Regions from separate parts of the Homo sapiens genome. Here region 2 is linked to region 1. The links are contacts of gene promoters, found by promoter capture Hi-C in blood cells and fetal thymus (Javierre and others, 2016). All regions are on one chromosome and are shown on one strand. The core of a region is centred on a gene start or on the middle of the fragment in contact, and the rest is flanking DNA. Distances in the headings are between cores, read along the strand shown.

The links. Contacts are between HindIII fragments. The CHiCAGO score rates a contact against its expected background, and 5 or more counts as called.
Region 2: a fragment that was not itself captured here is called in contact with the fragment with the promoter of TSHR in region 1 in 1 of 17 cell types (fetal thymus); the score reaches 10.8 in fetal thymus.

Annotation. Positions count from the first base shown.
Region 1 is chr14:80,954,122-80,957,522 of GRCh38, reverse strand. It overlaps TSHR (thyroid stimulating hormone receptor), which reads right to left and starts at 1,902. Exons shown (of 10, transcript NM_000369.5): 1 at 1,673-1,902. The coding sequence starts at 1,842. It also overlaps a transcript of CEP128 not described here. The HindIII fragment of the contact is 2,816 bases long and covers 284-3,099 here.
Region 2 is chr14:81,066,869-81,070,269 of GRCh38, reverse strand. It overlaps TSHR (thyroid stimulating hormone receptor), which reads right to left. Exons shown (of 10, transcript NM_000369.5): 3 at 1,942-2,016. The region is part of intron 7 of TSHR-AS1 (TSHR antisense RNA 1); the gene reads left to right. Among named protein-coding and RNA genes, the nearest start is that of TSHR-AS1, 100 kb to the left of the region's middle. The HindIII fragment of the contact is 1,939 bases long and covers 706-2,644 here.

The DNA.
Region 1 (3,401 bases), core at 653-3,152:
TTCAGAGACCTGGCATATTCATTTGTTTATTTATTCACTTAAGTTTTTTTTTTTTTGTTTTTTCTGAGTGTCTAAGTAGTTCCAGGGTTTCAGGAATTCGGGGTTGAATGGCAGTTCCCTATGTTAGAGAAGCTTGTGTCCTGCTTGAGTGGGCATGCAAATAAATAACAAGTTACAAGAAAGTAGACAATGTCTAAGGGCTAGGGTTAGGTTCATGCAGAGAACGCTGTTGGGAAGGGGGGTATAGCTTACCCAGCCTGAAGGTCATGGGTCAGGAGAAGCTTCCTGCAGGGTTGATCCAGGATCTGGATCTGGGAGTAGGCATTAGCTGGGTGAAGAAATGGGTGAAATGTGCTTCAGGCAGAGGGGCCAGAAAGTGGGAAGAAAGGCAAGGGCAGCTGTAACAGCAGGGACCTTTGGGGAAGTGCCAGAAGTTCTCAGCAGGAGGGGGAAGTTAGAGAAATGAGGAGCAATGAGGTTGGAAAGACTTGACTAGGTCTTGAAAGATCTGGTAGGCTGCACAAAAGAATTTTATTCTAGAGGTGACAAGCAACCTATGTAGAGGTGTAATCAAGAGGCCATTACACCTTTTACACATCTTATTCTGTGGTGGCAGCATGGAGAATGACTACCACACTGTTTGGAGGTTATTGAACTAATTAATTCAGGTGTGCTAAGACACTAGGATATCTCTGAGCACAGAAATATATCTCTGTGCTCAAATATTCATCTACTGTTAAATAGTCTTCATGAGCTAAATTCTTGAGAAAATCTAGAGGTGCAACTTTCCCATTTCTTTTCATCTATCAACATTTTCTTTAATAACCTGCATTTTTTTTTATCTTAACTGGATTTAACCAGCCTAGGTTGTTTTACTGTCCTTTCTTTCTGTTCTCTTTTTAACTAATCAAGACAGACTTTATTCCCTTGGTTTTGTCTACAATTTCAATGATCACTGATTTAAATTGCTGTTAAGAAACAGGTTGTGTGTGTATAATCTTATTTAACATCAGGTTTCTAATCTGGTAACATTTAACATGCAGATAAATGTACTATACTTTTATGAAATTTCATTTCTTTATACCTCTATCACAAAGCAGGGTTCTGGACGTACTATTTCACTGGCAGTTCACATTTGAGTAAGTAACTTACAGATACTGTATAGACAGTTCATTTTAAAAAGGGCCCCTGCTTAAACCTTTGTCAACAATTTGATGAATCAGCAGAACTGCTAAGATAACCTCCCATCTAGAGAAACAAAAAGGAGAAATACATATTTTTGCAATTTTTTATTACCCAAGGTAAGATCAAAAAGGTCAGTTCCTGAGATGCCATTATCCTTATTAATTCAAATAAAACAGATTCAACCAGGGTTAGGCAAAGTGCTGAATAGCAGCTTGTTGGAAAGAACAGCTCTCACGGTCATTGTACACCAAAGTTTTGTAACATTTTCCTGTGTTGGGAATGAGGATGTCAACAATGATACCTTCCCAAGTGTGGGCGATTAAGTTTTTAGCACACACACACATCTACACACACAGACATTCACTCACACATACACACACTCACACACTACTTCGGGCTGTTATTGAGCTGCTTTTGTGCACTTCGGGCCACCTCTGCAGATGCCCTTGATCTCTGGGTCCTACCCTGATCTCTCCCGGGTACTCACAGAGTCTGCGTACTGGGCGGTAAGCTGGGGATGCGTTGAATATCCTTGCAGGTGACTCTGAAGTCCTCCTCCTGATGGCACTCGCAGGGTGGAGACGAACACCCCATTCCGCCCAGGTCCCTGGGCAGGTCGAGCAGCAGCACCAGCTGCAGCAAGTCCGCCGGCCTCATTTTCCACGGGACTCGGGGCTATTTCTCCATCCTCCGAAATCGCCTCATTCTCAGCTCTGCACCTCGGGTTACCCCAGGCCAAAGGAGACCCGGGAGCGGGAGGGGTGGGAAGAGGGAGGGCTCCAAGGGGCTGTGACCTCACCACTGTGGAGGAGGCTGGAGAAGGGGAAAAAGAGGCACTTAAGTGCTCCGCTTCCCTAGGCAACCTTGACCCAAACAAGTCTGCTTGCTTCACTTTCCTTGGCTGGACCCACGCAGTCCGCTCCGTCTGTTCCCTGACACCCAACACCAGTCCTGGCTGTCCCCTCTGTTTTCCAGCCCGCCCCCCCACCCCGGGCGCCCCTCCCATTAGTTCTCTCCAAAGCCTAGTTTAGATGCCCCCTCCTTTCCTCCTCTTTAAATCCAAGGAGCCACCTTCCCTAGCGTGTAGCCTTCTAGACACCCTGTCTGCCTGGGAGCCACTCGCACGCACTCCTTATCCAGAGAAAGTCCCCGCGGAGTGGACTGTCCGCGGGCGGACCAATGTCCTGCAGAACTTCAGCTCCTCCTGGCCAGAGACACCTCTGCTGAGGGTCAGAGGCGGGCACGCAGCCCTGGCTAGCCCGCGGTGCGGCCGAAGCCGTCGCCCTGCACCCCTGGAGGATTCTCGTTGCTATCCAACTGCAGGGGCCACTCCGGTGGTTGAGTCGACTGGCAGCGGCCGCCTCACGTTGCAGCCCGCGGCTCCGCGAGGCAATTCAGGAACTGAACTTTGGGGCCATCTGCTGGGAAGAATCGGGAATGGCAGAAATAATTCCAGGTTCCCTTAATAATGGGTCCAGTATGGAAATTCTGGTCGACCCAAGAATTTCATTGAGTCATATTCCCCCTGGAAGATGGGAAGAAAAATAATACTTAAGTGGCATACTCACCATTCTTCGCACAGTAGCCAAAAAGATCATTACAAACATAAATCAGATTGTGCCTATTTCCTTCTTAAAAGTCTTCAATCACTTATTCCTCTTGGGATAAAAGGAATGTCAATTCCTTCTATACTGCATAATTCCTTTTATATGAACTTGGCTAGGACAGGAAGGAAAAAGTTGTGGTTATGGGAATCAGAATAAAGGTTAGGAAAGATTGACTAGAAAAAGACAGGAGGGAACACACAGGGTTTCCATATCGTAATTAGGCTGGAGGTTAAGTGGATGTATACATTTATCAAAATTCATTAAACCGTACATTTAAAATATGTGTATTCCAAATTTTACAGAAGCTTTATTCATAACCACTAAACGAACCAAGTGTCTCGCGACTAGATAATGGATAAACAAACTCTGATACCTCCACATTGGAATACTATTCTGCAATAAAAATGAATGAACTGCTGATACAACATGCACAAATTTTCTTTTCTTTTTTTTTTTCTTTTGAAACGGAGTCTTGCTCCGTCGCCCAGGCTGGAGTGCAATGGCGCGATCTCGGCTCACTGCAACCTTTGCCTCCGAGGTTCAAGCAATTCTGCTGCCTCAGCCTCCCGAGTAGCTGGGACTACAGGCGCCCGCCACCACGCCCGGCTA
Region 2 (3,401 bases), core at 426-2,925, 110 kb before region 1:
CGTATTTATCCTTTCGGGGTTTGCAGTACTTCTAACATACGTGACTTGATGTCTCTTAAGAGTTTTGGAAAGTTGCTTTCAAATATTGCTTTTCTCATTCTTTCTCTCTTTTCTTGGGATCTAGTCATAGGTATGCTAGATTTTTTATTGTGCTATATATTTCTTATTTTCTCTTTCTCTCCATGCTTCAGACTGATTATAGTCTTCTGACCTATCTTCCAGATTACTAATTCTCCTTTGAGCTATGCCTAATCTCTTGTGAAACTCATGTATTTAGATGTTTTATTGACTTTTTAGATTCTAGAGTTTACAACTGATCCTTCTTATCATTTTCAGTTTTATTCTGAAATTTTCTCTTGCCATTTAAATTTTTGAACATGTTAGTTATTTTAAAGTCTGTGTCTGATAACCAATATTTGAACTTCCTATGGATCATTTTCTATTGTCTATTTTCTTCTCTTGATTTTTTTGCCCCACAAACTCGAGTTATTTTTTATTGATTCAAAGCTAGGCTTTAGTCTTTGCAAGGGCTGATCTAGTCACAGTTTTCCCATACTTCTAGGATGAAGCTCTTTAGTGATCTCAACCAAAATCCTGGATTGTTTACTAGGAACAATCCTTCTTAGCAAGCCCGGAACTCAGAGTTTTATTTTCCTAGCCCTAATAGATGCCTAAACCTCTGGTCAGTTTCTTAGCCCTTAAGCTTTTGCTTACAATTCAGGAAATACCTCAAGGGAAAATAACCAAATGATGTTTTTGGGATTTGCTTATTGCCCATTGAGTTCTTACTGTCTTCATAACACTCTAATACTTTCAAACATTTTTTTAAAAATTCAGCTCCTTAAGTTATTCTCAGACCAATAGTTGATCTGATGTAAGGTAGCCTACCATACTTGTAAGCAATATCTTGGACCTCAGTATTCTTGAAAGCATCTTAATGTAGTGGATAGGGAAGAATTTTTAAGTCATACATTTATGGTATAAAGATTGTGGCCCTGTCCCTTGGTAACTGTGCGACCAAGGAAAACATATTTAGTCTCTCTGCATTTATGTTTTTCTTATATAAATAATGGAAATAATTGTATTTACTTCACAGGGTTGTTTTAAGAGGTAAATAATAACCAAACAAATAATGTTCATACAATGTTTAATGTAATGTTAGGATATACTAAGTATTTGTAGATAAGTATTTTTGTTTCTTCATCAAGAAAATAGAGTTCATGATTAGTAATACATAGCTACTTAAAATAATGCAATGTGATTATTTATGTAACACTTTTTATAGATTGTAATCTACTAGCGAAATAGAAAAATTATTCTATTTTTGAATGGTATATTGACTGGTTTTCAGGTGCTAGATATTATATAATTCCATATTTATGATAAACATGAAGTTGCAGCTCTTATTACACTTATTTTGCAAATGAGACTAGGAAAGATTATGTGACTTGTCCAAGGGTAGATAATGAGTAGGCAGAGATGCCGGTGTTCAAATCCAACTCTGACCAACTCCAGAACTAGGGTTATTAAATTCCCTACTATTCTAATCTCACCAAGCAACTCTTCTCTTTCCGAATTAAGGAAAATATGCCAGCTTTGTAGAATCTTGCACAGACCATAGAATCAAGTAGTTACTCAGTAAATACCTATTGTCTCACTGACATTCACATCAATAAAATATGCTGACACAGTAGTAATAGAACAGATAGTGGTTCAAGAACAGAACTTTTAATGTTGTCTTTAACTTCCAACCATGGAATTGAGGTGTAATGAAGATGAATTAACATGAACTGAGAATGAGAACAGGTTAATAATTTAATCATAAACAGAAGTTTTGACTCACAATCAAGAAACCAGCTCCCATTGCCATCTGGAGCCCCAAGATTATCAGTCAAGAGTGGTTGTGGCTTAGGTCTATGCTGCACTTTTCCTTGTACTTACATGTGAGTCACTTTACTCAAATTGTAGAAGGAGTGTGATTCCAGCTGCTGCAGAGTCACATCTATAGATACGTAGCTGAATGTCAGAAAAATATAAGACAAAGTAGAAAGTTAGTAAGGTTGTAAACTTCAAACATACTATTTTTGACATAACTTTTTGTTATGCGCTTCCCAGATCATGCAACATGTACAACCCTCATGGATTCTGCCAAATTATGTTAAAATTACTTACTACTTTTTTTTTCAGATCTTGTGATACCTGAATTCCTCCTGTATATTAACTCCTATTTATCTGAAATTATCATTTAACTGTCACTTCCTTCAGAAACTTTCCCCAAACTCCCTGATTAAAATTTCCCATATGCATATTTAGCGATATATATATATATATATATATATATAGTGTCACCCTGTGGAATGTTCCACTACAGAATTGAGGTTTTCTCTTCATCTTCTTTGAAACTACGTGTCTAATTCCGTGTTACTAGACATTCCATTAAAAATGCTTCTTATTCACTCTAGTGTTCTTTTCTGATGCTTGCTTTTATTTTATTTTATTTTATTTTTGCTATTTTGAGGAACTCTTCCATTTTAAAGGAACTCTTCTATTTCCTTTAAAATACACAGATGTCCAAGACCTGGTCTAGGATAATTAAATCAGAGTTTATGAAGGATGAGTCAAATACTTTTATTTTTCAAAAGCTTCTTAGCTGATTCTAATGTGTAGGCAATGTTGAGAACCACTGACCTATAGTTTGAATTGAACCTGCCATACATATGTATATATGGTGTATATATAGGGATTATATATAGTGATATATCACTATATATATATATATATATATAAAACTATAAACTCCTTTCACTAATTATCAGAGTGCAAATTTCCAGTTCTTTGGGTGATATTTCTGTTGTCTCACTAGACTGTAAGTTCTCTGAAATGCAGAACTGTGCCTGTTTTTGGCCACTGAATCTTGAGTGCCTTTCAGAGTGCTTGGCATGTTGTCGACTCTTATTAAACAACTGAATGAATAGAAGAGTTCCTCAAAATAGCAAAAAAACATGAGCATCAGAAAAGAACACTAGAGTCAATAAGAAGCATTTTTAATGGAATGTCTAATAACATGGAATTAGACATGTAGTTTCAAAGATGAAGAGAAAATCGCAATTCTCTAGTGGAACATTCCACAGGTTGACGACATACTCCCTTAAGACTTCTCTTCATGATTTTAAATGAAGCTGAAAATTCAAGCTCCGTCTTAAACTTTGTAAGCAAAAAGTAATTCAAATAAAAGCTTCAAGTACTGAAAAAGGAAAACAGAGAAATTCCTAAATACAACTTGTCAAGAACATATAAGGAATATTTCAAATAGTTTCCTCAAATTCCATCTTGTAATGAGAATGACTAATGCAGCCAAATTCAATGACCACTTTCTATTGTGAGGTATTTCTATGACATTT